Regions from separate parts of the Homo sapiens genome. Here region 2 is linked to region 1. Evidence: promoter capture Hi-C in human tissues and cell types (Jung and others, 2019). All regions are on one chromosome and are shown on one strand. The core of a region is centred on a gene start or on the middle of the fragment in contact, and the rest is flanking DNA. Distances in the headings are between cores, read along the strand shown. Region 1 holds the start of SOX5 (SRY-box transcription factor 5). Region 2 overlaps SOX5 (SRY-box transcription factor 5).

Region 1 (2,700 bases), core at 165-2,664:
GACAGCACCGAAGTATATGTGTTGGCTATTTTACTTTCTTCCCTGATTTGATACTGGCTTTTCTAATATGTGACCACATTCAAGCGTTACTTTATCCTCAATACTCTTTTTCTCTTCCATTGCTTCACTTCTAGAATGTTTTAATCTTTGTCCTTTCTTTTTTCGTCTTTTCATATCAAATTCAGTCGTTTGAGCGATGAACAGCTTGACTTAGCATATTTTTAACCAGCTGGTCTAGCACCTAGCTTGCATTGCATAGTCAGATACAACAAATGTTTATACAGAAGGTAGCTTTCATGAAAATGAAAAAAAGCCTGGGTATCATGCATCCTGGCTTTTTTTAGCTTTTTTTTTTTTAATTCACCATACAGAATACAAAGTTTGAATTCTTTTTAATGGCAAACAAAATTCTATTTATAGTTCAAAAAAATGAACTTATGCTGGGATAAGAACTCAAATTTAAAAATTGCAATGTGTACTTATAGGAACATTAAGAGGGCTAAAATTCTTTCAAAGCCCTGCTTTACTTGCAACAACATCAAATAAAAGGATGCTGCAGATATTTCTCTAAATAGGAACAACTTAATTACAAATACACTATTCCCATCATAGCAAAAGGGGAAAATACAGTAAATTAAAATTCAGTCAAGACAGCTAACACAAAAAGTGGCCACTAAAACTTAGAAAGGGAACAGCTCCATTTATCCCCTTTTCGCCCCTATTTTTGACACTTAGGGAGTAATCTAATATAGCGATGATGTTAAATTTTCTTTGGGGGGAAAAAACGCTCTCTTATATCAACAAAAGGTCATGTGCTTTACTGAGCAGCTTCCAAAGTTTTACGGAAGGATCAAATAGGAACTTATAGCCTCCGTTTAAAGCACCACTAAAACCTTCTGTCACCCTAGAAATTACATGAGACAGAGATGCTGAAAATGGTAACATTCTGCACAAAAGCGTTTTTAAAAGGTGGGGAGAAAACAATCAATGAAGGAAGAAAGTAAGAGAGTGAATGAGAAAGACAGAAGCAGCGAGTTGGGGAGAGAGAGAGAGATGCTTAAGGTTCATTTAATTTGCTGTTATAGGACGCAACCTAAAAACATTAGCAGAAATCTCGGAGACTTTGCAAATCAGTTCAGTTTGGTCCGGGCAATCACAACAAAAAATCAGCTAACAAGATTGCAGAAGCCCTAGCTAAAGGCTTCTCTAACAAACACGTTTTGGGGGAGCATCTTCCAATGATTCAGAGACTACTGTAAAATGGGAGAGTTGTACTTCAATATATTAGGGGGAAAAAACTGTACTCACCTTTCAAACTCCTGAGGTAAATCAGGGTCAGTAAGCATGCTGGAAAAGCACAATTTCCCTTTGTCACAGCAGCCACCTATGATCGTCTCCAACTGAACCTGTCAAGTGAGTCCAAACCTTCTAAACCAATTGATTTTCTCTCTGTCTCTTCCCCCCCTCCCTCCCTCCCTCTCTCTCTCTCTCTCTCTCCCTCTCTCTCTCTGTCTCTCTCTCTCTCTCTCTCTCTCTCTTTCTCCCCCCCTCCTTCCCCTCCTCTCTCTCCTAGGACTCCTTGACCAGTCTCTTAAAGGGGTAGTGCACTTCCAGCAGCGGAGTCTGGCTGCTCCCCCCTCCGCGGAGCCACACGCTCCGGCTGCAAGGCTCTAGACAACCTCAGGGTGCCTGTCCTTTCCTTTTAATTCTCTCTTCTAGACATCACTGAATGTGAGAAGTCAACTCATTTAACACGTCTCCCATACTCTGTCTTCTAAATCATAAAACTCACACACACACATACACACGCAGAACAGTATGATTTTGTAAAACGTATTTGCTGCTGATTAAAAACCTAGTCTATATAATAACAGAAGCTCGATTAAACTGCATTTATTAACTAATTAAGCAAAAAATTTAATGTTAGTAATAGCATTTTTACACAAAGAATTGTTATTCCTTCTCACCCTTTTCTAGGCTCTCTCCGTTCACACACGGAAATACACGCACACACACACACACACACTCACACACACACAACAATCAGGCATTGTTCTGAGGGAAGAAAAGCAACTTTGACAGATTGAAATATAGCAGAGGCCCCTTCAAGGAAACCTGTAAACAACTTGTCACTCACTCTGTCGGTCTCACTGTTAGCTCGTGCTTTCCGCAAAGTGGTGCGAACGTCCTGGCAACCCGACCAAAGTTTCCTCAGCTCTAAACTCCATAAAACACGATGTGCGATGTGGAGGGGAATAGGTATCCACATGCCAAAATAACATACACGAGCGAACAAAAACCCAAAACGAAATCAAAACATAAAAACAAAAAGACGGTACTAACAAACTGTCCTGTTTGGGATCGCTGGGGAGGTCAGGAGTAGGAAGCGCCCCCCTGGCTGTGGATCTCTTTAATTTCCTCTGCCCAGGCAGCCACAGATAACAAGGTGGACAAACTATGGCTTTACAGATTCTAAGCTGGCTGGCAAGGCACAGCCTCCATAGCAGTTCCAATTATCTAGATAAAAATCTGGCAGCCGAGAAAGGTAATCAGGTAATGTACCTTTGACACGAAATGACAGAGGCACATACACACAGAGAGAGAGACACTTACACAGACATGCATGCAGAGATGGTGGCTGCCCCGTGCACCGCAGCATCTGGTCAGGGAGTAAGCACACACTTACCAACAGGAGATAGT
Region 2 (2,700 bases), core at 3-2,502, 92 kb before region 1:
AATTGGAGAATTAAACCTAAGATTCAATTCTAAACTCCTTGCTGTGGTCATCATTAAGCTTCCTCAACTGATTCAGGTGCTGCAAGATATGCCAAAGGTATAAGAAAATAAAGCTGGTTTTCTCTCTCTTCAAAGAGTTTAAAATTAAATTTGAGAGGCACTGAAATGCACCTGAAATAATTAGTAATCATAACAACTATAATAAGTACTAATTTTTAGAGTAGCAAATTATACATGCAAGAGAAGTTTAGAGAAGAGAGAATGCTAGAAATCAAAGAAAAATGGAAAACTTCTTATCATAGTACTAATCACACTCTTTTAGGATTGTTCATTTAATTTTCTTTCTATACCATGAAGACAGGGAACATGTCTGATTATTCACACACACACTATGCCTTGTTATTAATGTTCCATAAATTCATATTGAGTTAATTATTAATTTATTAAATCTTCATGTATAGAGAGTCATTTAGTTTAAGCCTAGAAGAAATAAGTGAAGAGGAAAAGATACAGAGCATTCCCAGAGGCACCACCCAGGAAATTTTACAGTGCATATACACACACACTACAATGAAGGAAGTGGCTTAACCAAAAGAAATGAAGAATAATAAATAGAAGACTAATATAGGAGAGTCATTTCATGAAGGGTCATGAAAGTCAAGTAGGGTAGTTTACATTTGACCTAGCAGGCAATGGAGAACTATTGTTGATCTACAGTGAGTGATTCTATTAAAGTAGCTTGTTAGGAAGATTAGTCTAGCAGTGGTATGTAGAATTAATTGGGTAGAGGAGAAAGTAAAGATCTCCACTGAATAGGAAACTGTTACCATGACACATATGTGACAATAAAAGGCCTTCCACTAGATTGTAGCAGTGGGAGTTGAAAAGAACCATCAAATCTATCTGTCATCTGTGATTATCAACTGTTTTGGAAAATAGGTTACACTCAGAAAGGAGCTTTTCCAAACCTTATATATTCAGATTATTTTTGTTCACATTCCAGAGTACATTGCCCTTCCCTCTTCATCCATAGCCTGGTGATAGTTACTTCTATAGGGACAATGACAGGAATGTGTAAGGCATATGGAAAAAGGCTAATAGCCACTTTTAGATGGTTAGATACTCTATACACAATGTGTGATAATCGATGACAGTGTACTTAGGAAGTTTTTTCTTTCTTTTTTTTTTTTTTTGAGGTGGAGTCTTGCTCTGTAGCCCAGGCTGGAGTGCAGTGGCACGATCTTGGCTCACTGCAACCTCCCCCTCCCAGGTTCAAGCGATTCTCCTGCCTCAGCCTCCTGAGTAGGTGGGATTACAGGTGCCTGCCACCACACTTGGCTAATTTTTTGTATTTTTAGTAGAGACGGGGTTTCGCCATATTGGCCAGGCTGGTCTTGAACTCCTGACCTCAGGTGATCTGCCTGCCTCGGCCTCCCAAAGTGCTGGGATTACAGGCATGAGCCACCATTCCCGGCCAAGAGTTTTTTTTATTTGTAATTTAATATGCCTGTATGTGTGTGTGTGTGTGTGTGTATATGCAAGGCAGGTACATATATGTGCACTTTGTTGTTTTTTTGTTTGTTTTTTTACAATGTATGTTACTTTCCTATGAGAAGCGCTAAAAAATAATAATAATAAATCACTAATTAAACTTAAGAGCCTCTGCACAGCAAAAGAAACTATCAACACAGTAAAAAGACAACCTACAGAATGGGAGAAAATATTTGCAAACTATGCATCTCACAAAGGTCTAAAATCCAGCATCTATAAGGAACTAAAATTAACAAGAGAGAAACAAACAGCCCTATTTAAAATTGGGCAAGGGACATGAACAAACACTTCTCAAAAGAAGACGCACATGCACCCAACAAGCATATGAAAAAAAGCTCAATATTATTGATCACTAGAGAAATTCAAATAAAAACCACAGCGAGATACCATCTCACACCAGTCAGAATGGCTATTATTAAAAAGTCAGAAAGTAACAACAGGTGCTGGTGAGGTTGCAGAGAAGAGGGAACCCTTATACACTGTTGGTGGGAGTGTAAATTAGTTCAACCATTGTGGTAAGTAGTATGGTGACTCCTCAAAGAACTAAAGCCAGAACTACCATTTGACTCAGCAATCCTATTACTGAGTATATACCCAGAGGAATATAAGGCATTCTACAGAAACCTGCATGTGAATGTTCATTGCAGCACTGTTTACTGTTGCAGAAAGTCAGGGACCCTGAACGGAGGGACCAGCTGAAGCCATGGCAGAAGAACATAAACTGTGAAGATTTCATGGACATTTATTAGTTCCCCAAACTAATACTTTTATAATTTCTTATGCCTGTCTTTACTGCAATCTCTGAACATAAATTATGAAGATTTCATTGACATTTATCACTTCCCTAATCAATACTCTTATAATTTCCTGCACCTGTCTTTAATCTCTTAATCCCATCATCTTCATTAGCTGAGGATGTATGTCACTTCAGGACCCTGTGATGATTGCGTTAACTGTACAAATTGTAAAACATGTGTGTTTGAACAATATGAAATCAGGGCACCCTGAAAAAGAACAGAATAACAGCGATTTTCAGGGAACAAGGAAAGATAACCATAAGGTCTGGCTGCCTGTGGGGTCGGGCAGAATACAGCCATATTTTTCATCTCACAGAGAGCCTATAGATGGACATATGAGTAGGAGAACTAT

The links. Contacts are between HindIII fragments. The study calls those that stand out against the background at their distance.
Region 2: a contact is called between a fragment that was not itself captured here and the fragment with the promoter of SOX5 in region 1, in 2 of the 25 tissues and cell types used here (dorsolateral prefrontal cortex and mesenchymal stem cells).

The regions. Positions count from the first base shown.
Region 1 is chr12:23,948,256-23,950,955 of GRCh38, forward strand. SOX5 (SRY-box transcription factor 5) reads right to left here and starts at 1,415. Exons shown (of 15, transcript NM_006940.6): 1 at 1,309-1,415. The coding sequence starts at 1,346. The HindIII fragment of the contact is 5,378 bases long and covers 1-2,700 here.
Region 2 is chr12:23,856,558-23,859,257 of GRCh38, forward strand. All of the region lies in intron 2 of SOX5 (SRY-box transcription factor 5), which reads right to left. Among named protein-coding and RNA genes, the nearest start is that of SOX5, 92 kb to the right of the region's middle. The HindIII fragment of the contact is 4,066 bases long and covers 1-2,700 here.